5 separate regions of the Homo sapiens genome follow, and regions 1, 3, 4 and 5 are each linked to region 2. Evidence: promoter capture Hi-C in 16 types of primary human blood cells and fetal thymus (Javierre and others, 2016). All regions are on one chromosome and are shown on one strand. The core of a region is centred on a gene start or on the middle of the fragment in contact, and the rest is flanking DNA. Distances in the headings are between cores, read along the strand shown. Region 1 overlaps BDP1 (BDP1 general transcription factor IIIB subunit). Region 2 holds the start of CENPH (centromere protein H). Region 3 overlaps BDP1 (BDP1 general transcription factor IIIB subunit). Region 4 overlaps MCCC2 (methylcrotonyl-CoA carboxylase subunit 2). Region 5 overlaps MCCC2 (methylcrotonyl-CoA carboxylase subunit 2).

The links. The method cuts DNA at HindIII sites, captures the fragments that hold promoters and counts their contacts. A CHiCAGO score of 5 or more calls a contact.
Region 1: a contact is called between a fragment that was not itself captured here and the fragment with the promoter of CENPH in region 2, in 2 of 17 cell types (activated CD4 T cells and total CD4 T cells). The highest score is 5.9, in activated CD4 T cells.
Region 3: a fragment that was not itself captured here is called in contact with the fragment with the promoter of CENPH in region 2 in 7 of 17 cell types (total CD4 T cells, activated CD4 T cells, total CD8 T cells and 4 more); the score reaches 8.7 in total CD4 T cells.
Region 4: a fragment that was not itself captured here is called in contact with the fragment with the promoter of CENPH in region 2 in 1 of 17 cell types (non-activated CD4 T cells); the score reaches 5.9 in non-activated CD4 T cells.
Region 5: a fragment that was not itself captured here is called in contact with the fragment with the promoter of CENPH in region 2 in 10 of 17 cell types (total CD4 T cells, non-activated CD4 T cells, naive CD4 T cells and 7 more); the score reaches 21.3 in total CD4 T cells.

The regions. Positions count from the first base shown.
Region 1 is chr5:71,523,914-71,528,369 of GRCh38, forward strand. It overlaps BDP1 (BDP1 general transcription factor IIIB subunit), which reads left to right. Exons shown (of 39, transcript NM_018429.3): 25 at 26-410. Among named protein-coding and RNA genes, the nearest start is that of MCCC2, 61 kb to the right of the region's middle. The HindIII fragment of the contact is 8,080 bases long and covers 1-4,456 here.
Region 2 is chr5:69,188,259-69,193,104 of GRCh38, forward strand. It overlaps CENPH (centromere protein H), which reads left to right and starts at 1,325. Exons shown (of 9, transcript NM_022909.4): 1 at 1,325-1,510; 2 at 3,537-3,592. The coding sequence starts at 1,377. It overlaps LOC112267932 (a long non-coding RNA gene), which reads right to left and starts at 1,219. Exons shown (of 2, transcript XR_002956215.2): 1 at 733-1,219. RefSeq lists enhancers at 937-1,176, 1,104-1,398 and a silencer at 1,257-1,376. The HindIII fragment of the contact is 12,435 bases long and covers 1-1,899 here.
Region 3 is chr5:71,497,697-71,502,526 of GRCh38, forward strand. BDP1 (BDP1 general transcription factor IIIB subunit) reads left to right here. Exons shown (of 39, transcript NM_018429.3): 14 at 3,866-3,957. Among named protein-coding and RNA genes, the nearest start is that of BDP1, 44 kb to the left of the region's middle. The HindIII fragment of the contact is 3,916 bases long and covers 1,238-4,830 here.
Region 4 is chr5:71,612,299-71,617,399 of GRCh38, forward strand. The region is part of intron 6 of MCCC2 (methylcrotonyl-CoA carboxylase subunit 2); the gene reads left to right. Among named protein-coding and RNA genes, the nearest start is that of MCCC2, 28 kb to the left of the region's middle. The HindIII fragment of the contact is 1,271 bases long and covers 1,373-2,643 here.
Region 5 is chr5:71,589,758-71,594,510 of GRCh38, forward strand. MCCC2 (methylcrotonyl-CoA carboxylase subunit 2) reads left to right here. Exons shown (of 17, transcript NM_022132.5): 2 at 3,169-3,235. Among named protein-coding and RNA genes, the nearest start is that of MCCC2, 4.8 kb to the left of the region's middle. The HindIII fragment of the contact is 540 bases long and covers 2,782-3,321 here.

The DNA.
Region 1 (4,456 bases), core at 483-2,982, 2.3 Mb after region 2:
ATTGTTGTTTTGATTAAATATCTAGCTGTCCACAACCGTTAAACGAAACAAGTTACTCTAAAATTGCCCTGGATGGGAAAACAACTATCTCTTCTACATCTGAGTATGAGAGAAATCGTGGTGAAAGGAGAAGTCATAAAAAGTTCAAACCAAATGTCACCAGAGGTCGTGGATCAAAACGAGTTCGGGGTAAGACCTCTAAGAAGGAACCTAGAGCTTCCAAGGCCATGCTGGTGACTCTTCGGGCTTCCCAGGAAGAAGATGATGATGCTGACGATTTTGAGTCTGACTATGAGGAAGAAAGCTATCATCTTGCTCCCGAAGAAGTAAACAAAGCTCCAGTATTTGTACCTGTTGGTCTCAGATCTCCTGAACCTGTTTCTGCTCAGATTGAGGAAACAATGGAAGAGGTTCGGTTTTTTTTTAAAACCTTGGTACTTTATCTTACTTGGTTTTCACCTCTTGTTTCTTTTAGGGGATCATTATTTCTTCTCGTAGTGATTATTAGGATTTGAAGAGTTCATTCTCTAAATAACCTCTACCAAATATAATTTGGGGCCTTGTATAACCTTTTGTGATTGCTCAGTCCCTATGGCCCAGGCCCAGCAAGGGAGTCAGTGTAACAACGAGAGAAATCTGCTTACACTTGTACCTGGAAGCTGTTTAGTCTACTTTCTGATAATCTTTCTTTTTTTTTATTTTTTATTTTTTATTTATTTATTTTTTATTTATTTTTTTTTATTGATCATTCTTGGGTGTTTCTCGCAGAGGGGGATTTGGCAGGGTCATAGGACAATAGTGGAGGGAAGGTCAGCAGATAAACAAGTGAACAAAGGTCTCTGGTTTTCCTAGGCAGAGGACCCTGCGGCCTTCCGCAGTGTTTGTGTCCCTGGGTACTTGAGATTAGGGAGTGGCGATGACTCTTAACGAGCATGCTGCCTTCAAGCATCTGTTTAACAAAGCACATCTTGCACCACCCTTAATCCATTCAACCCTGAGTGGACACAGCACATGTTTCAGAGAGCACAGGGTTGGGGGTAAGGTCACAGATCAACAGGATCCCAAGGCAGAAGAATTTTTCTTAGTACAGAACAAAATGAAAAGTCTCCCATGTCTACCTCTTTCTACACAGACACGGCAACCATCCGATTTCTCAATCTTTTCCCCACTGTTCCCCCCTTTCTATTCCACAAAACCGCCATTGTCATCATGGCCTGTTCTCAATGAGCTGTTGAGTACACCTCGCAGACGGGGTGGTGGCCGGGCAGAGGGGCTACTCACTTCCCAGCAGGGGCGGCCGGGCAGAGGCGCCCCTCACCTCCCGGATGGGGTGGCTGGCCAGGCGGGGGGCTGACCCCCCCCACCTCCCTCCCGGACGGGGCGGCTGGCCGGGCAGAGGGGCTCCTCACTTCCCAGTAGGGGCGGCCGGGCAGAGGCACCCCTCACCTCCCGGATGGGGCGGCTGGCCGGGCGGGGGGCTGACCCCCCCACCTCCCTCCCGGACGGGGCGGCTGGCCGGGCGGGGGGCTGACACCCCCCACCTCCCTCCCGGACGGGGCGGCTGGCCGGGCGGGGGGCTGACACCCCTACCTCCCTCCCGGACGGGGCGGCTGGCCGGGCGGGGGGCTGACCTCCCCACCTCCCTCCCGGATGGGGCGGCTGGCCGGGCGGGGGGCTGACCCCCCAACCTCCTTCCCGGACGGGGCGGCTGGCCGGGCGGGGGGCTGACCCCCCCACCTCCCTTCCGGACGGGGTGGCTGGCCGGGCGGGGGGCTGACCCCCCACCTCCCTTCCGGACGGGGCGGCTGGCCAGGCGGGGGGCTGACCCCCACCTCCCTCCCGGACGGGGTGGCTGTTGGGCAGAGACGCTCCTCACTTCCCAGACGGGGTGGCTGCTGGGCGGAGGGGCTCCTCACTTCTCAGACGGTGTGGCTGCCGGGCGGAGGGGCTGCTCACTTCTCAGATGGGGCGGTTGCCAGGCAGAGGGTCTCCTCACTTCTCAGACGGGGCGGCCGGGCAGAGACACTCCTCACTTTCCAGACTGGGCAGCCAGGCTGAGAGGCTCCTCACATCCCAGACGATGGGCGGCCAGGCAGAGACGCTCCTCACTTCCCAGACGGGGTGGCGGCCGGGCAGAGGCTGCAATCTCGGCACTTTGGGGGGCCAAGGCAGGCAGCTGGGAGGTGGGGGTTGTAGCGAGCCGAGATCACGCCACTGCACTCCAGCCTGGGCACCATTGAGCACTGAGTGAACGCAACTCCGTCTGCCATCCCGGCACCTCGGGAGGCCGAGGCTGGCGGATCACTCGCGGTTAGGAGCTGGAGACCAGCCCAGCCAACCTCTGATTAATCTTTCAAACATTTTGGTGTTTTCTGGTTGATAGAGAAGCTAGAAGGGACATACTTTTTTTTTTTTGATTTGGACCAGGCATGGTGGCTCACGCCTATAATCCCAGCACTTTGGGAGGCCGAGGTGGGTGGATCATCTGAGGTCAGGAGTTTGAGACTAGCCTGACCAACAAGGTGAAACCCTGTCTCTACTAAAATACAAAAATTAGCTGGGCGTGGTGTCAGGTGCCTGTAGTCCCAGCTACTGGGGAAGCTGAGACAGGAGAATTGCTTGAACCCGGGAAGCGGAGGTTGCAGTGAGCTGAGATCGTGCCACTGCACTCCAGCCTGGGAGACAGAGCGAGACTCTATCTCAAAAAAAAAAAAAAAAAAAAAGAAGAGTGCTAAAATACATGTAACATAAAATTTACTATCTCTCTCTCTGTTTTTTTTTTTTTTTTTTTAAAGACGGGGTCTCAGTCTGTCACCCAGTCTGGAGTGCAGTGGTGGGATCTTGGCTCATTGCAACCTCCACCTCCCAGGTTTAAGTGATTATCCTGCCTCAGCCTCCTGTAGCTGGGACTACAGGTGTGCACCACCAAGCCTGATTAATTTTTGTATTTTTGGTAGAGGCAGGGTTTTACCATGTTGGCCAGGGTGGTTTTGAACTCTTGACCTCAAGCAATCCACCTGCCTCGGCCTCCCAAAGTGCTGGGATTACAGGCGTGAGCCACCATGCCCAGCCATCTTACTCATTTTTAAGTGTACACTTCAGTGGCATTAAGAACATTCACATGTACGTGTTGTCATGCTACCATCACTACCATCCATCCACAGAACTCTTTTTTAAAATTAATTAATTTAGAGATGGGGTTTCGCTATGTTGCACAGTCTGGTCTCAAACTCCTGAGCTCAGGCAATCCTCCTGCCTCGGCCTCCCAAAGTGCGGGGATTACAGGCACGAGCTACTGCGTTCTTTTTTAAGATGATTAAGACATCCCGCAATGAGTGGTTGTCCCCTAGCCTGGCAAAAAACCAAGATACAAGATACAAACACCCAACACCTGTCCCTTGAGCCCCATCTCTATGCCGTCTGGCCTGGTCACTCTCAGGTCTGCCTTGCACCCCTGGCGAACTCTTTTTATTTTGTTAAAACTGAAATTCTATACCCATTAAACAGTAACTCTCCATTCCTCCCACCCCCTAACCTTTTGGCAACCACTTTTCTACATCTTGTCTCTTTAATTTGACTCCTCATGTAAGTGGAATCATACAGTATTTTTTTGTGTGACCATTTTATTTCATTTAGCATAATGTTTTCACAGTTCATCTATGTTGTAGCTTATGTCAGAGTGTTCTTCATTTTCGAGGTTCAATAATATTCCATTGTGTGTGTGTATCATGTTTTGTTTATTCCTTTATCATCAATGGACACTTGGGTTGCTTCCACCTTTTGGCTGTTAGAAATAATGCTGGTATGAACATAGTTGTATAAATACCTCTTTGAATCTCTGCTTTTACTTTTTGCGGGATATACCCAGAAGTGGAATTGCTGGATCGTATGGTAATTCTTTTAATTCTTTTTTTTTTTTTTTGAGATGGAGTCTCTGTTGCCTAGGCTGGAGTAGAGTACAGTGGCGCAATCTTGGCTCACTGTAACCTCCATCTCCCAGGTTCAAGCAATTCTTCTGCCTCAGCCTCCCAAGAAGCTGGGATTACAGGCACCTGCCACCACACCCAGCTAATTTTTTTGTATTTTTAGTAGAGGTGGGGTTTCACCATGTTGGCCAGGCTGGTCTCAAACTCCTGACCTCAAATGATCCATCTGCCTGGGCCTCCCAAAGTGCTGGGATTACAGGTGTGAGCCACTGCACCCGGCCTCGATCTTATGTTAATTCTATACTTAACTTTTCAAGCAACCTTTATACTGTTTTTCATAGGGCTGTTATCATTTTACATCCCTATCAACAGTGTACAAGCATTGCAGTTTCGCTACATCCTCACCAGTCGTAGCTATGTTGTAACTTTGGCTAGTAATCATCCTAAGGGTTGTGAACTAGAGAAACGTGTTGAACATATTTAGCTTCCTTACACTTTTGCCTGTTAGTCTGCCATTCCAACTTTGTAAC
Region 2 (4,846 bases), core at 75-2,574:
GACGAGGTTTCTCCATGTTGGTCAGGCTGGTCTCCAACTCCTGACCTCGAGATCCTCCCCCCTCGGCTTCCCAAAGTGCTGGGATTATAGGTGTGAGCCACAGCGCCCGGCTTTTTTTTTTTTTTTTGAGACGGAGTTTCACTCTGTCACCCAGGCTGAAGTGCAGTGGCGCGATCTCAGCTCACTGCAACCTCCGCCCCCCCGGGTTCAAACGATTCTCCTGCCTCAGCCTCCTGAGTAGCTGGGATTACAGGCGCCCGCCACCACACGCAGCTAACTTTTGTATTTTTAGTAGAGACGGGGTTTCACCATGTTGGCCAGGCTGGTCTTGAATTCCTGACTTCAGGTGATCCACCCGCCTCAGCCCCCAAAGTGCTGGGAGTACAGGGGTGAGCCACCACGCCCAGCGAATTTAACTTTTGTCAGGAGCCGTATTACATTGACAATGGAGAGGAAGAAAACAGCACAGTATGATCAAGTTTAACTAGTGGGTAATTAGCTGTAAAAGAACTCTCGACTCTTGTTCAAAGAGGTTCAAGCTGCTGTGCTTGTGCGGCAAGGACAGTGTCCAAATGAAAAACTACAAATCAGTCATCTGTCCTTCATTTTCTCCATTCCCCCCACTCACTACACAGCTAAGAAAGCTCAAAGGTACCCTGCAGACACTCAAAACTTGAGGGCACGCAACTCTCAGTTACGAGTGGTGGCAATCATAATGACAGAATGAAGTACCAGTGCAAGAAACTGGAAGCGTGTGGATGTCTCCAGGCTGGAAGTCTGGGTTCGAAATGTCTGCAATGCCTCGCACTTGTGGCCCGTCCCTGATCTTCAGAAGCCACTGGTTTCTCCGCCAAACAAAGGGTATGCACCTCATGGGCTCAGGTCAAAAAAGTCTTCTAAACAACCCTCTAATGTTTATCTTTCACAGCCTGCCGGGCACACCCATCTTCAAAGGCAGAGGACGGAAAAGTGCCAAGATGGATGGACATATGGCTGTCGCCGCACTCCCGTGTCCAAGCGCCAAGGCCGAATGACCACTTAGGTCAGGAGATTTTTCCCCTCCAGGCTGCTGTTCCCGGGAGATGTCCCAACGTCTCTAGTCCAGCCCCTAACTCAGCACTCTACACATCCGACGCTTAACGAAAGCTATTCCAACTTTTTACCAGCCGTCTGCAGTTATTTTCACCAGTAGAGCCCGGATGAAAGAGGAGCCCGTAGTAACCACGGCAACCGAAAAACAAGGCGGAAAGGGTGGGGCCCTGGGCGGAAGGGGCGGGGCCCTCGGGCCTTTTCCCGGCGTCCATTTAGTGGCGGGAAAAGCGACCTTTTCTGAGCGCGTTTGCCTGTTGAGTGGTAGCCTTTCCCCTCAACCAGCAATGGAGGAGCAGCCCCAGATGCAAGACGCCGACGAGCCCGCGGACTCCGGAGGGGAAGGCCGGGCAGGCGGGCCACCGCAGGTCGCCGGCGCCCAGGCGGCGTGCAGCGAGGACCGCATGACCCTGCTCCTCAGGTTGTTCCCTTTGGCCTCCTCAGCCGGGGCCAAGTGGGCGTTGTGGCCCGGAACTCCGCCCTTGCTCAGAAGGGCTAGGGTTCGAATTCACGCTCGGTCACGTCAGGTCTCCGTGATTGCCTCATTCACTTAAACTGTTGAAGCTCTTTCTTCATCAGCGAAAAGGAGAGAAAAATGACCCCCTGGAGAGAGGTTACAAGGGTTAAATGAGATAGTCTAGGAAAGTGTTGAGCACAGTGCCCCGGGCCCTTAGAAGCTGTAATTTCTCCTCCTGTTTCCCCGCCCTCCCCCTACCTCTCTGGTTTACAGACAAATTGAATGCCAGAGCTAAACTGGAAGGAAGGTGCCCCTACCATTTCTTTTAGAACTACGACCCTTTGTAACCCAGAAGCTTTATATGTTATAAATTCTACTAAGCGGACGGTGTTTATACTTTTCCACTAAGCGGTTGCTGGGGAAGATTCGATGAGAAGGGACATTCGTCTTCTAAACTAGTGAGCAGGAGAAGGTCCTGGGCCAAATCTGCCTAACTGCCTATTTTTGTGTGACCACTCAAGCTAAGAATAGTTTTTATGTTTAAGTGTTGCAGGGAAAAGATCATAAAAATATTTCATAACACGTGAACTCTATTAGAAATTCAAGTTTCAGTTTCCATAAACAGTTTTATTGGAGTACAACTTTCCTGCCACAAGGGTGGAATTGAGTAGCTAAAACAGAGACCGTGTGACTCACAAACCCTAAAAAATTTACTATCAGGTCCTTTACAGAAAAAAATTTGCGGTCCTCTGTTCTATATCATAACAGAGGTAGTTTTAAAAAAATCATTATTGGCTGAGCGCGGTGGCTCACGCCTGTAATCCCAACACTTTGGGATGCCGAGGCAGACGGATCACCTTAAGTCAGGAGTTCAAGACCAGCCTGGCCAACCATGGCCAACATGGTGAAACCCCGTCTCTACTAAAAATACAAAAATTAGCTGGGCGTGGTGGCGGGCGCCTGTAATCCCAGCTACTCAGGAGGCTGAGGCAAGAGAATTGATTGAACCCGGGAGGCAGAGGTTGCAGTGAGCAGAAGATTGTGCCATTGCACTCCAGCCTGGGCAATAGAGCAAGACTCTTGACTCAAAAAAAAAAAATTAATTACCATTTTTTTCTTTCTTAAATGTTTTGAAAAATGAAAAGATGTCTATTTCTTTTTTATTGTTTTTTCCTCCTCACCCTTGCTGTCATCTTAAATTACCATTTGCTCATAGTTTTTCTACTTATGTATGATTTTTGGATTTATAGAACAACTGAAAAACTATATGAATTAGTAATCCAAGGATTAGTATCTTTGTTATTTTTCTGTATCTCCTGATAAAAATCTGTGTTTGTAAATACAGTGGTTTGGGGTTTAATCATTTTGGTCTATTCTTTGTATAGCATCCTCAGTTCAGTCTGGCCTATTAAAAATAATCTTAAGCGGCCGGGTGCGGTGGCTCACGCCTGTAATCCCAGCACTTTGGGAGGCCGAGGCGGGTGGATCACGAGGTCAGGAGATCAAGACCATCCTGGCTAACACGGTGAAACCCCATCTCTACTAAAAATACAAAAAATTAGCCGGGCATGGTGGCAGGCGCCTGTAGTCCCAGCTGCTTGGGAGCCTGAGGCAGGAGAATGGCGTGAACCCGGGAGGCGGAGCTTGTGGTGAGCCGAGATTGCGCCACTGCACTCCAGCCTGGGCAAGAGTGCAAGACTCCGTCTCAAAAAAAGAAAAAAATCTTAAACACCAATTTTTTAACTTTTCCTGACAGATGCTGTTTTCCCAGTGTATTCCATTTTGTGTCTTCCTCTGAGGCCTTAAAGTTCTTTATACCCATTTTAAATAAAATGAGGCCAAATTAGAAGTTTGTAATTAGGAGTTTAATTATTTATATTTATTTTGTTGTATCAGCTTCCGAAAAAGAATGAGTTGGTTCGTCATGTGGTAATGAGTAAAACCTTAATCAATAAATATGTGACTTTATATTCTCTTTATCTGTTTTCAGGCTGAGAGCACAGACAAAACAACAACTCTTAGAATATAAATCAATGGTTGATGCAAGTAAGTATTTTCATTTTCAAATTAGGGTTTTGTTGTTTGTTTGTTTGTTTTTTTGAGACAGGGTCTTGCTATCACCCAGGCTGTAATGTAGTGGCGCAGTCTCTGGTTTACTGCAGCCTCAGCCTCCTGGGCTCCAGCAATCCTCCCACCTCAGCCTCCCAAGTAACTGGGACCACAGGCACATGCTACTGCGCCCGTCTAATTTTCTGTATTTTTTTTGTAGACACAGGGTTTTGCCACCACACCTGGCCTCAAATAAGATTTTGTGAGTTTGATGATTAACAGTACTCGAGTGAAAATAAAATTAACTTTACCAAAAATTGTTTATATATGTTATAGTGTGGCAAAACTGGTAAACATGCAAGATATTTATGAAGTATGCTAAGTGTGCTGAAGGAAACAAAGGCATGATAAGAGGGAGGGGCTTCTTTTCATAGGGATGGCTTCTCTAAGAAGATGATTTTAGAGCTCAGATCCAAATGAGAAGAAAGTTTACGTTCCAATAGTCTTTTTGTTCTCTATATAGCTAGTACCATTTTTAAGGGATTGTGACATCCAAAAACTAGATTTAGTTAACACTGTAGAATTTCTATACCTAGGAGACGACAGATGTAAGGCAGGCCACAGGAAGTTTAGTTGTAGCCTTTGAAAGAAGATGTTTATCTAAAATTGACTATCTGCTCTTTTAGAGGCCAAGACAAGAAGATCACTTGAAGCTAAGAGTTTGAGATTAGCCTGGGAAACAAAGTGAGACCTCGTCCCTACAAAAATAAAAAAAACGTAGCCAGATATGGTGATACATACCTATAGTCCCAGCTGGGACTCACTACAACATCCAACTCCTGGGCTCAAGTGATTGAGTGATTGTACTGTACTCCACTCCACTGGGCAACAGAGTGAGACTGTCAGGCAATCAACAGAGAAATAAGTATTGATTCTTTTACCATTTAAAAAATATATATATGGCTGGGCTTGGTAGCTCACACCTGTAATCCCGGCACTTTGGGAGGCCGAGGTGGGCGGATCACCTGAGGTCAGGAGTTCGAGACCAGCCTGACCAACGTAGAGAAACCCCGTCTCTACTAAAAATACAAAATTAGCTGGGCGTGGTGGTGCATGCCTATAAGCTCAGCTACTCGGGGAGGCTGAGGCAGGAGAATCGCTTGAACCTGGGAGGTGGAGGTTGCAGTGACGCGAGATCACGCCATTGCACTCTGGCCTGGGCAACAAGAGCAAAACTCCGTCTCAAAAACA
Region 3 (4,830 bases), core at 1,946-4,445, 2.3 Mb after region 2:
TAAACCAGCTATATATTAAATTCTGCCCACAACATTCTCATCTACACACAGGCAGTCTCATTTCTGTTTGTCTTTTACAAACTTTCTGTTTGTTTTTTCTGAGACAGGGTCTTGCTCTATTGCCCAGGCAACAGAGTCCAGGAGTGCAATGGCAGTATTATGGCTCTCTGCAGCCTCGAAATCCTGAGCTCAAGTGATTCTCCCACATCACCCTCCCCAGTAGCTGGGACTACAGGTGTGTGCCACCAAACCCAGATAATTTTTTTTTTTTTTTGAGACGGAGTCTCACTGTCTCCCAGGCTGGAGTGCAGTGGCGTGATCTTGGCTCACTACAAGCTCTGCCTCCCAGGTTCACGCCATTCTCCTGCCTCAGCCTCCTGAGTAGCTGGGACTGCAGGTGCCCACCACCATGCCCGGCTAATTTTTTGTATTTTTAGTAGAGATGGGGTTTCACCGCGTTAGCCAGGATGGTCTCTGTCTCCTGACCTCGTGATCTGCCTGCTTTGGCCTCCCAAAGTGCTGGGATTACAGGCGTGAGCCACCGCACCCGGCCTGATTTTCTGTTTTAAGTTAGCAAAAATTTGGAATGGAGTTTCACTGTGTTCACCAGGCTGGTTTCTAACTCCTGGCCTCAAGTGATTCTCCTGCCTCAGCTTCCCAGTGTGCTGGGGTTATAGGCATGAGCCAGCTCACCTGGTCAATAAATTTCTTTATTCTTTTTCTTTCTTTATTTCTTTTTTTTTTTGAGATGGAGTCTTGCTCTGTTGCCCAGGCTGGAGTGCAGTGGCACGATCTTGGCTCACTGCAGCCTCTGCCTCCCAGGTTCAAGCAATTCTTCTGCCTCAGTCTCCCAAGTAGCTGGGATTACAGGCATCTGCCACCATGCCTGGCTAATTTTTGTATTTTTAGTAGAGACAGGGTTTCACCTTGTTGGCCAGGCTGGTCTCGAACTCCTGACCTCATGTGATCCACCTGCCTCAGCCTCCCAAAGTGCTGGGATTACAGGCGTGAGCCACCACGCCTGCCGTCTTTTTTTTTTTTTTTTGACATAGGATCTCGCCCAGTCGCCCAGGCTGGAGTGCAATGGCATGATCCTGGCTCACTGCAGCCTCTGTCTCCCAGGTTCAAGCTATTCTTGTGCCTCAGCCTCCTAAGTAGCTGGGATTGCAGGCATGCACCACCACGCCCAGCTAATTTTTGTATTTTCAGTTGAGACGAGGTTTTGTCATGTTGGCCAAGCTTGTCTTGAATTCCTGACCTCAAGTGATCCGTGTGCGTTGGCCTCTCAGAATGCTGGGATTACAGGCATGAGGGCACCATGCCTGGCCAATAACTTTATCTATGTATGCACACATTTCTATAATTTTTAACCATAATGTGTATAATGTTTAAAACCTTTTTCTTTTCTTTGTTTTGTTTTTGAGACGGAGTCTCGCCCTGTCGCCCAGGCTGTGGTGCGATGGCGTGATCTCGGCTCACCGCAACCTCTGCCTCCTGGGTTCAAGAGATTCTCCTGCCTCAGCCTTCCAAGTAGCTGAGATTACAGGCGCGCGCCTCTATGCCCAGCCAATTTTTGTATTTTTAGTAGAGACTAGGTTTCACCATATTGAGCCACCGTGCCCTGCCAAAACCTTTTTCAGCTGACCACGGTGGCACACACCTGTAATCCCAGCACTTTGTGAGGCCAAGGCTGGTGGCTTACTTTAGGCCAGGAGTTTGAAACCAGCCTGGCCAACATGGCGAAATCCCATCTCTACTAAAAATACAAAAAAATTAGCTGGGCATTGTGACACATGCTTGTAATCCCAACTACTCGGGAGTTTGAGGCAAAAGAACCACTTGTACCCGGAAGGGAAGAGGTTGCATTGAGCCAAGATTGCACCACTGCACTCCAGCCTGGGCAACAGAGCGAAACTCTGTCTCAAAAAAATAAAAAATTAAAAAAAAACCCTTTTCCTCTGAAACTATTAATTTACATTTTTTTGGGTCCAATTGATCTTTTTAATAGCTGTGTCATGTTAACATGTTATTGATTTACCTAATCAGTTCTCTACTAATGGATGTTCAGATTGTTTCTATTTTTGTTTGTTTTTTTAACTCTTGTACATTAGAAGCAAACAATTTTGTAAGTAAGGCTTTCTCAAGGAAACAAAGTATAAATTTCTAGAGACGGGTGGGATCGTTGGGTCAAATAATGTTTTAAATATTTTTGTGATTCTTGTTATGCATTGTCTTTTGTTATTTGTTATTTTTATTACTTTAAAAAATTTTCTGGTATGTCTGAGTCTCCTGAATTGTTATGCATTGTGAAACTGACAGTCATAAATAATCTATTTACATTGCTAAATGAATCTTTCTGTTTCCTTATAACTTTTCCAGAATTCTATTGTTACCATTTTTTTTAAACTAAAACACTTTTTAAGATGTTGGTTTGCTTCTTTTCCTGTTTTGTGAAATATCTTTTATCATAATCTTTATAGTACAGTTACATTATTCTAATCTTATGTTTATTGAATTGTAGAAAATTTGGAAAATACAGATTCATGTAAAAGTTAAAACAAAAATTACTTGTAATTTTTTTCTTTACCTTTTTTTCTTTGAAGTGTTGTAATCTTGTTTCTTTTTTTTTTTTTTTTTTTTTTTTTTGAGGTTTAGTTTCACTCTTGTTGCCCCAGCTGGAGTGCATGGTGTGATTTCGGCTCACAGCAACCTCCGCCTCCTGGGTTCAGGCGATTCCCCTGCCCTCAGCCTCCTGAGTGGCTGGGATTACAGGCATGCGCCACCATGCCCGGCTAATTTTTTGTATATTTAATAGAAACGGGGTTTCACCATGTTAGCCAGGCTGCTCTCGAACTTCTGACCTCAGGTGGTCCACCTGCCTCAGCCTCCGAAAGTGCTGGGATTACAGGCGTGAGCCACCATGCCCAGCCATTCCTTCTAATACTTGTAATTTCATTATTCCCTTGCAACCAATCTTTTCACATATCTCCTTACAGATTTTCTTTTACACAACTGAATCATGGTTTCAATACAGTTTTGTATCCTTTGGTAATTAACATTTCAGAAATATTTTTCTGAAATATTTAGTGTGATTCCATTTTTCTTAAAAAAAAAAAATGTACATCAGGTGTGGTGGCTCACACCTGTAAGCCCAGCCCTTTGGGAGGCTGAGGCGGGCTAATCACCTGAGCCCAGGAATTTGAAACAAGCCTGGGCAACATGGCAAGATCTGGTCTCTACAAAAAATGAAAAAATTAGCTGGGCATAGTGTGCACCTGTAGTCCCAGCTACTCAGGAGGCTGAGGTGGGAGGATCACCTGAGCCTTGGGGGTCAAGGCTGCAGTGAGCTATGATCATGTCACTGTACTCTAGCCTGGGCGACAGAGCATGACCCTGTCTCAAAAAAAAAAAAAAAATTCTCATCTGCATTTAGGATTTTTAGAAAATCTCCTCTAGTTAGAAGTACAAAAAATGAAGTTCTTATTTATTCATTTATTGAGATGGAGTCTCACTCTGTCACCCAGGCTGGAGTATAGTGGTGTGACCTCGGCTCACTGCAACCTCTACCTTTTGCGTTCAAAGAATTCTCCTGCCTTAGCCTCCCAAGTAACTGGGACTACAGGCACACGCTGCCATGCCTGGCTAATTTTTTGTATTTTAGTAGAGACAGTTTCACCATGTTCCCCAGGCTGGTCTTGAACTCCTGAGCTCAGGCAATCCGCCTGCCTTGGCCTCCCAAAGTGCTAGGATTACAGGCTTGAGCCACCGTGCCCGGCCAGTTCTGTTGTTTTAATTTCCATTTGTTTATTACAAAGTTTGAACTGTTTATTGTAAGTAGATAAATTGTAGCAAATTAAATTCACAGAACCACGTGGAAAAAGATAAAATGAATACATTGGACATTTTGAGAATGGAGACTACAGAGAGAGAGAATCCAGAAGCTGAAACTGTATCTGTGTGAGTATTCAGGAAGTAGTAAAAAAAAAAAAAAAAAAAAGTAACTCTTAGGAATGATGGTAATAATTTGTTTTCTACTTAATAAGGTCTGAATTTAATTTTCAAGCAGCATACTTTAAGTTCGTTTTCAACCATAGGTGGTTTTGAAACATTCATAATACTCTCTCTGCTTGATATTGCTTATATAAATTTTATGAGTCTATTGAGTTAGCCATTACATTTGAATGTTTACAGTATATGCCCCTGGATAATTTTATTTATACTAAGAGATTTTAAAAGGGAATATTTAACTTGAAATAGAAATCTAAAATAGAATGTGAATCTGACTGGTGGATTCTGGGCTCTTCCAGGGGTTACCATTTATACTATGATTTGGGACTAATCCCCTGGAGTTCTACATTATTCTATAGTATCCTTAGTCAGGAGTAGTATTCTATGCTTGGCAGATGTAGATTTTTCCAATTTTGTAATAAAATTCTATTTAAAAGTGCTTTTTCAAGAGGGCTTCCAGGATTATGTCTTTTTTTTTCTCTCTCTTTTTTTTTTTTTTTGAGATGGAATCTCGCTCTGTCACGTAGTGGTGCAGTCTCTGCTCACTGCAACCTCTGCCTCCCGGTTTCAAGCGATTCTTCTGCCTCAGCCTCCCAAGTAGCTGATATTGCAGGCGCCCACCACCACACCTGGCTAATTTTTGTATTTTTAGTAGAGACAGGTTTAACCATGTCGGCCAGGCTGGTCTCGAACTTCTGACCTCAAATGATTCGCCCGCCTCGGCCTCCCAAAGTGCTGGGATTACAGGTGCGAGCCACTGCGCCCGGGCGGATTATGTCTTTTCAGGAAACTTGTGAATTATTTCATATTCCAAATGGTTTA
Region 4 (5,101 bases), core at 758-3,257, 2.4 Mb after region 2:
ATTCTGATTAATCTATACTTGCAATTATTATATATCTTTTTGATTTTTCTATCAACATAGTTGGTTGTAATTGTTTATGGTATATTTTACTGTTACACAGTGACCATGCCTACCTATATGCTTTATTTATCTAAATAGAAACTTCGGCTTTGCTTACTTTTGCACAGATGGCCGTTGCATTATCTATATGAAATTCGTATTGTGGTCTCCATTTAATCTGGTATTATATTTTTTTCTTTTAGAGAAACAGGATCTTGCTATGTTGGCCAGGCTGGTCTCAAATTCTTGGCCTCAAGGATCCTTCTGCCTTAGCCTCCCAATGTGCTGGGATTACAGGCCTGAGCCAACATGCTGGGCCTGGTGTTACAATTTTTATAGCTTACCTTTTATTAGTTTCCTAGGGCTGTTGTAACAAATTATCACAAATTGAGTGGCTTAAAGCAACAGCAATTTATGTATTTATTTAGAGATGAATGTCTTGGTATGTTGCTCCAGCTGGTCTTGAACTCCTGGCCTCAGATCATCCTCCTACCTTTGCCTTGTGGGTAGCTGGGATTATAGGTGTGAGCCACAATGCTTGGCTAACAGAAATTTATTCTGTGAAGTTCTGGAAGCCATAACTCTGCAGTCAAGGCAGCAGCGGGGCTGTGCTTCCAGGGGACATTCTGTTCCTTTCCTAGCCTCTTCCAGCTCCTGGTGGCTCCAGGTATTCCCCTGGCTTATGGCTACCTCCCTCCCATGTCTGCCTCCATCTTCACGTGACCTTCTCTGGGTATCTGGGTCTTCTCCTTCTCTATCTTATAAGAACACTTGTCACTGGATTTAGGGACCACCCAGGTAATCCACAAGATTCTTAATTATATCTGCAAAGATTCCTTTTTCAAATGAGACCATCTTTACAGATTCTGGTGATTAGGATATGGCTATATCTTTTTATCTTTTGTTGGGGGAGGCTACTATTTAAGCACTATAGCCCTCTATCATCTAACATGTTCTTTGCTGTGTCTTTCTGCTGCCAGGTGGAGTCTCTATTCCTGTGGAACTTTGAAGTTTAAAGTGCTTTAAAATCAGATCTTTTAAAAATCAAAAGTGTACTTACTTCTTGGAATAAGCAATACCTGCTTATGATAAAAAACTCAAAATGTCTGAAGGGCATTTGACTGAATGACTGTCTTCCTTTTACTTATTTTATTTTTGTTTTTTAAAAAATATTAGGGCTGGGCGTGGTGGCTCATGCCTGTAATCCCAGTACTTTGAGAGGCCAAGGCAGGAGGATTGCCTGAGCCCAGGTGAGACCAGCCTGGGCACACACCTGTGGTCCTAGCTGTTTGGGAGGCTGAAGCAGAAGGATTACTTGAGCCCAGGAGGTTGAAGCTTCAGTGAGCCATGATTGTACCACTGCACTTCAGCCTGAGTGACAGAATGAGACACTGTCTCAAGAAAATATACATATATTTATAATATATAATATATCAGAGAAGGAAGGTGGAGTAAGTACTAGTGTTTTCAGTATGAAGAAAAGTGCTCACACATAGCCGGACATCTTCAGTGCAGATTTCAGGTTTAGGGCTCATATATTCAGGAAGGGGTCAGAAAAGATACTATGGAGACTCAATATATGATAACAGAAATTTCTTTTTAAATTCCAAGAGGTTCATATTATATATCTAATTCATATTATATAGTTCATATTATATATATATGGTTCATATTATGTATAACGTATATAATACACACACACACACACACACATATATCAGTATTTCTTTGAGCTACTTCTCTTAGCCTTTATTTTTTTCTATTTCCCTTAAATAGGAAAGGAGGTTTAGGGTTAAGGTTTGCCTTCTCATATTTTAATGAACCGTATTTTTAAGTTTCCATAGTATCTGTTCTGAGCCTTTCCTGAATATATGAGCCTAAACCTGATATCTGCACTGAAGATGTCAGGCTATGTTTCTCCTCTTCTCAAAACCTAAACCCGTCATTTATGATTTTAATACTAACCTCTCCTTTTTGCTTCATCATTTATTCCCTTTCTCTTACTCTAATTAATTTTCTTGGGCAAGGCACGGTGGTCCACACCTCTAATCCTAGCACTTTGGGAGGCTAAGGTGGGAGATTGCTTGAGGCCAGGAGTTTAAGATCTAACGTGGCCAGCATAGTGAGACCCCATCTCTCTCTCTCTCTTTTTTTTTTTTTTTGAGATGGAGTCCTGCTCTTGTCCCCAGGCTGGAGTGCAGTGGCGTGCAATATTGGCTTACTGCAACCTCCGCCTTCCAGGCTCAAGGGATTCTTCTGCCTCAGCCTCCCGAGTAGCTGGGACTATAGGCACATGCCATCATGCCCAGCTAATTTTTGTATTTTTAGTAGAGACGGGGTTTTACTATGTTGCCCAGGCTGGTCTCGAACTCCTGAGGTCAAGTGATCTGCCCGCATTGGTCTCCCAAAGTGCTGGGATTACAGGTATGAGCCACTGTGCCCAGCCCAGACCCCATCTTTTAAAAATGAAAAAATTTTTTATCTGCTTATTTTTCTTCTCACACCCCAAAATCACGTTGATACCTTTTCTTTAAAGGAAACAAAAAAAGAACACTAAAATGATGCCAAAAGATAAAGACCTTTTCTAGCTTCTGCTGTTTTTGAAGCTTTTCTCCCTACCTGGGTGGCTACATTTTTTTCCCCCTTTGAGATGGAGTCTCACTGTGTCATCCAGGTTGGAGTGCAGTGGCACGATCTCGGCTCACTGCAACCTCCACCTCCTGGGTTCAAGCAATTCTCCTGCCTCAGCCTCCCTAGTAGCAGGGACTACAGGCATGCACCACCATGCCTGACTAACTTTTTTGTATTTTTAATAGAGATGAGGTTTCCATATGTTGGCCAGGCTGGCCTTGAACTCCTGACCTAAGGTGACCCACCCACCTCGACCTCCCAGAGTGCTAGGATTATAGGCGTGAGCCACCGCGCCCAGCCAACATTCTTAAGGATTGGCACATTGTCTTCATTCTAACTGCTCACTCCTTCAAACCTCCATGCCCTACGAGAGTTTCACCAGCCTAGAGACCAGATTCCCACTCTGCACAGCCTCTTGGTATCATCATTTTTTTCCTTTTCGTGAAATTCTCCTTATGCTTCATGCCACTGGGGTGCCCTTATTTATTTATTTATTTTAACGATTTAGCCAGATCTCATTACCTGTCATCTCCCTGATCTTTATCTAGTCTTGACCACCTCTACATCTCTACTTTTGAACCTCGGGGGTTCTGCTTTCTCAGTCAATTTCCTGCTGGTACCTTAGTATGAAATAATAAGAAATATACACATTGATCTCTGTCCCCAGTTCCAGGAACAGAGCTCCTAAAATCCTCATAAGTTTCTGAGCAGTAGGGGCACTAGGAGGCTCTTTTGTTCCAATATTTGGTGTCTGCCCCAGTTCCTCCGACAGAGTTCCTAATACCCTTGTAGATAGGGGTACTAGAAGAATCTTTTGTTCTATGATTTGGTCTTTGACCCCCATTCTTGTCACAGAGCTCCAAAATCCCTTGGAATTTCCTGGGTGATAGGAGCATCTTTTATTCTGATGAGGCGACTCTTAGTGGGCTCCTGGATGGTGCTGGTCACCAGAAAGACCAAGCCATGACCATAAACTTGGAGCTTTCAGTCCCAGCCCTATCCTTCAGGGAGGGAGAGGGGCTGGGGATTGAGTTAATAATTGACCATGCCTCTGTGATGAAGCCTCCATAAAAATCCCTAAATGGTGTTCAGAGAGCATCTGTGCTGGCAAACTCATCCAAGTGCTAGGAAGGTGGTGCATTCCCACTCCGCGGGGACAGAAGCTCCAGCCCTCAGGACCTTTGCAGACTCGCCTTATGTATCTTTTCATCTGGCTGTTCATCTGTATCCTTTATGATATCCTTCCTAACCAGTAAATGTAAGTAAAGTGTTTCCCTGAGTTCTGTGGGCCACTCTTGTAAATTAGTCAAACCCAAGGATGGGTAGTGGCAGCCCTGATTTACAGTCAATCAGAAATATAGGTGACAACCTGCTCCTTGTGGATTGGCATCTGAAGTGAGGGCCATCTTGTAGGACTGAGCCCTTAGTCTGTGGGATCTGATGCTGTCTCTAGGTAGACTGTAAGAACTGAATTGGATTAGAGGACAGCTGGTGTCTGCTGGAGAACTGCTTGGTGTGTGGAGAAATACCCCCACATATCTGGTGTCAGAGGTATTGAGTGACTGTGTCAGACAGTAGGAAAAACACTTTTTCCTCTGTCTTTTCAGACTTAGGTTCAAACTAGACATTGAACACATTAACTTCCCCTACTCATTTGTTCCCTCACCTGAGTTCCCATCTACTGCTAGCACTACCTTGCTCTTTCCCTAGGACTTGATGTCATCCTTGGCTCTTTTCTCTGCATTTTCCCTTACTTAATCCTTTTAGGTCAAAAATATACATCTTTGACATTTTTGTATCCCTGGCAGTTGCTCTGATGCCGGGCACAAAGTGAACACATCCTAAGCCTTTGCCTAATATATTGATGAGTCCTGTTGGTTTCACCCTTGGGCAGTTCCTCTCCACTCTGTTCCTACTATCACCCCCAGAGGCAGCTCAGGCCTTTGTTACCACTAGACTGTGGCTCTAGCCTCACCTGCCTGGTGTCCCTGTCTGCCTAGTCTATCCTTTCCCATACAGTGGACACATGCTGCAAGGTTATTCTTTATGTGGCCCTCCTGTTACTATTTGCTACAAAACAAAGCTCATACTTCTTAGCCCGATACTTAAGCCCCCGTGTGATCGGATTTCAACCTAACTTTCTAGCCTTATTGCTCCTGGACCCTAAACTGCAGTCAACCTGATGCAGTCACTGGTCTCCATATATACCATAGCCTTTTTTGACCATCTGCTCAGGCCCATGCTGGTCCTCTTTCCCCTCATCCTCCTGGGTCGGAGTCTCCAACCCATCTTCCAAGACACATCTCAAATGCCACCCTTTTAAGGAAATCCCGGAATCCTTTACTGGAAGTAATATTTTCTTCCTCCTAGCTCCCATAGTTCTTGTACTGTGCCTTACTAATAGCATTTATCCCTTTAATCTAGATATATC
Region 5 (4,753 bases), core at 1,802-4,301, 2.4 Mb after region 2:
TATTTATCATAATGATCCTGTGCAGTAGGTACAATTGTTATTTCTGTTTTATAGATGGGAAAACTGTGGTATATAGGGTCCAAGAAATTTGTCTGAGATAACACAGAGCCTGAATTTGAAGCCAGGTGGTCTGGCTCATAACTCTTGAGTCCAGGGTCTTAACTGTTGCTCTATAATGCTTCTCACTCACCCAGCTCTACCTAGGTGGGTTCTATGGTTGAAAAGATGGGGTGGGAAACTTGTCAGTGGCTCAGCTCCAATTCATTATGACTGTCAGGCACTAACCTCTGTGGTTGCTCAGCTTCACAAGAAAATTACTAGGTTGTAGAATGTTGTTTCGCAGGTGATTAAAACACACACACACACACACACAAACACAAACACCTGGCGTCCTGAGAGATCAAGATTTGCCAAATGCAGTATCAGTAAGTAGGGAAACTGAAAGTTGAACTTGGTTTTGCCACTAAACTACACTGCCTCTTGGTTAGTGAGTCTCATCCTAAGGAGGCTAGGTTGGTTGATAAAGGATTGCCTGGGAGGTGAACTGTAGCCAGTACTGGCTCTTCTGTGATTTAAGTCTGATGGGCTGAGCTTGGCACAGATGTTGCCCAGTCTGTAGAGGCAAATGTCAGCTTCAGTGGGTCAGTGCTTTTCTTCTTTGACCCACTGGTTGCTTAAAAGTACGTTGTTTAATTTCCATATATTTGTGAATTTTCCAGTCATCCTTCTGCCATTGATTTCTAGTTTCATTCCATTGTGATTGAAAGGATACTTTTGGGCCAGGCATGGTGGCTCAGGCCTGTAATCCTAGCGCTTTGGGAGGCCGAGGCTGGTGGATCACCTGAGGTCAGGAGTTCTAGACCAGCCTGGCCAACATGGTGAAACCCTGTCTCCACTAAAAATAAAAAAATTACCTGGGCATGGTGGCGCACGCCTGTAATCCCAGCTACTTGGGAGTGTGAGGCAGGAGAGTCGCTTGAACCCGGGAGGCGGAGGTTGCAGTGAGCTGAGACTGTGCTACTGCACTCCAGCCTGGGCGACACGGCCAGACTCCGTCTCAAAAAAAAAAAAAAGGATACTTTGTATGATTTCAGTCTTTTAAAATTTATTAAGATTTGTTTTGTGGCCTGACATGTAGTCTATCTTGGAGAATGTTGCCTGTGCACTTGAGAAAAGTTACATACTTTTTTCTGCTGTTGTAGGGTGACAAGTTCTGTATATTGTGTTAGCTCCAACTGGTTCTTTCCCTAATACCATGCTGCTTCCTTGTTTTTTATTTTCTGGATTTTGCAGAGCAAGAGAATGTAGCAGAAATCATGACCCTCAGAGCTCTTGGAGCTGTAGAAAATAGGAAATAATGGAGATATACTGTAGACTGAATATTCATCTAAGTTTGAACAGTTAGGAAGTTGCTTAGTGTTCTGTCAAACAGAAGGAACTAAATAACTAGAGATGCTAATCACATGGGGAGCAAAATGTATTAGTGGGCCAAGTCTGAATTTCAAAGATAATTAGCTAGTTAAGTATTGTTCTAAAGTAATATGCTGACCAAACAAAATTTAAAAATACAGAAGGGTGAAAAGTTAGTCCCTCTACCTCTTTTCTACTTCTCACTGTCAATATTTCCTTGTGTATTACTTAATTTGTGTATATATGCCAGCATAGAGTTTTGTTCTGTTTTTTTTTTTTTTTTTTTGAGATGGAGTTTTGCTCTTGTTGCCCAGGCTGGAGTGCAATGATGCAATCTTGGCTCACTGCAACCTCCGCCTCCCGGGTTCGAGGGATTCTCCTGCCTCAGCCTCCCGAGTAGCTGGGATTACAGGCAAGCACCACCTTGCCTGGCTAATTTTGTATTTTTTAGTAGAGACGAGTTTTCTCCATGTTGGTCAGGCTGGTCTCGAACTCCCGACCGTAGGTGATCTGCCCGCCTCGGCCTCCCAAAGTGCTGAGATTACAGGCGTGAGCCACCACGGCTGGCCGAGTTTTGTTCTTTTTACTAATTTATTTATTTATTTGAAACAGTCTTGCTCTGTCACCCAGGCTGGAGTACAATGGCACGATCCTAGTTCACTGCAGCTTCAAACTCCTGGGCTCAAGAGATCCTTCCACCTTAGTTGGTCAAGTCGCTGGGACACACCACCATGCCCAGATAATTTTTAAATTTTTATTCTTTTTATTTTTATTCTTTTTGTAAAGATGGAAGTCTCCCTATGTTACTCAGGCTGGTCTCAAACTCCTGGGCTTAAGCGATGCTCCTGCCTCCGCCTTCCAAAGCTCTGGGATAACAGACATAAGCCACCACACTCAGCCTGTTCTTTTTAAAACATAAAATAGGATCCTTGGCCAGGTGCGGTGGCTCATGCCTGTAATCCCAGCACTTTGGGAGGCCGAGATGGGCAAATCACTTGAGGTAAGGAGTTTGAGATCAGCCTGGCCAACATGGCGAAACCCGGTCTCTATTAAAAATACAATAATTAGCTGGGCATGGTGGCACACACCTGTAGTCCCAGCTACTTAGGAGGCTGAGGCAGGAGAATCGCTTGATCTCGGGAGGCGGAGGTTGCAGTGAGCCGAGATTGCACCATTGCACTCCAGCCGGGGCAACAAAGGGAGACTCTGTCCCAAAAAATAAAAATACAAAATTAAAAATAAAAATAAGATCCTTTTTCTCCCTCTGGGATTTGTTTTTAAGTGTACTTTGTCAGTAAGCAAGCATTGGTTGGAATCTCAGATAGTGACTGATGGGACAGGAAAAATAAGATGGTATTCTAACCTTCAAAAAGCTTATATTCCTTAAAATAGGAAAACAAATAGAGATCAGTTTAAGTTCAGAAGGTGTTTAAGGAAGAAAGATGTTAAATTGAGTAGGAGTGGCCAGAAGTAGAGTTGAAGATGAGATAAAACATGAATTAGGCTTACAGAGGAGTAAGATATGGAGAGATGGACAAGTGGGGTGGTGAAGAAGAGCTTGAACAAGACAGGCAGGGGTGAATCTTTTCCATACGATCCAGTGGCCCAGCGTGGCTGCCACAGATGGGGTGGCCCAGTGTGGCGGCCACACAGAGTTGGCACAGACCACTGTTTTTTTTTTTTTTTTGACCTTTATTTTGGTAAAAAGGAATTGCTTTCTAATATTTCTCTCCCCTGTCTCCTCTATTTCTGTTTTAGGAGAACTACAAGCAGATGAAAGCACTAGTAAATCAGCTCCATGAACGAGTGGAGCATATAAAACTAGGTAAACACAGCATTTATTCCACAGCTTATGCCTTTACTTAAGATGTCCTAAAATAGTTATTGCTTTTAGGAAAAATACTGGAATTAAGCTTTTGATATTTTTTTTTTTTTTTTGAGATGGAGTCTTGCTCTCTTGCCCAGGCTGGAGTGCAGTGGCGCCATCTCAGCTCACTGCAACCTCCGCCTCCTGGGTTCAAGCCATTCTCCTGCCTCAGCCTCCCAAGTTGTTGGGATTACAGGTGCCTGCCTCCATGCCTGTCTAATTTTTGTATTTTTTAAATAGAGACAAGGTTTCACCATGTTGGCCAGGCTGGTCTTGAACTACTGATGTCAAGTGATCCATCTGCCTTGGCCTCCCAAAGTGCTGCAATTATAGGCGTGAGCCACTACTCCTGGCTGAGCTTTTGACTCTTAAGACTATGCATTTGTTGGTATGCAGGCATTTAATTTTATTTTTCCTATTACTTGGCCAGTTTTTCTCTTCATAGAGTACTACCACTTTTGGGGGGAAAAGTAAAGATTCAAATTCATAAATTTTATGAATAAATAATTTATTTTTAATTTTTATTAATTTTTTTTTTAAGAGATGGGTTCTTGCTCTATTGCCAGGCTGGACTGAACCCCTGGCTCAAGCGATCCTCTCATCTTGGCCTCCCAAAGTGCTGGGATTACAGGTATGAGCCACCACACCTGGCCAGTGATTTCTTAGTAGGCATTTAATATTTCCTCCCTAAGTGCTGAATCTCAGATGGAAAGCATTCTTCATATTTGATAGACTGTTTCAGATAACTTTTATCAACAAGTATATAATACTTAAAATTGTATATAATACTTTTAATGTAAAATTTTACATTTAGGTTAGAGTAGTTTAAATACTGGATCTCAGGAGTATAAAAATAGTGAAGAAGACTGGATTTGGAAAGTATGGTCTAGAATTGCTTATTTACTAGTTTATTTAGAGACAGGGTCTCCTCACTCTGTTGCTCGGGCTGGACTCGAAGTCGGGAGCTCAAGTGATCTTCTTGCCTCAGCCTCCCAAGTAGCTGAGACTGTACCTGTGCCCCTGTACGCAGCTATGGAATTCATACTTTTGAAGCCATTTTAGATCAAGGTGTTGTCTCCAGAAAAAGAATTCAAACTCTTGCTGAAATGAAAGTGTTTTGTTAGGGGTGATAACTCAATTGTTATGCCCATTTTGAGAGTTTGATTTGGTGAACTCACTGTCCCCCTTAGACATTAAGATGGTGGGTTTTGGGGCCAGGCACAGTGGCTCACGCCTGTAATCCCAGCACTTTGGGAGGCCGAGGTGGGCGGATCACATGAAGTCAGGAGTTCGAGACCAGACTGAGCAACATGGTGAAACCCTGTCTCTACTAAAAATACAAAATTAGCTGGGTGTGGTGGCGCATGCTTGTAATCCCACCTACTCGGGAGGCTGAGGCAGGAGAATTGTTTGAACCTGGGAGGCGGAGGTTGCAGTGAGCCAAGATGGTGCCATTGCACTCTAGCCTGGGTAACA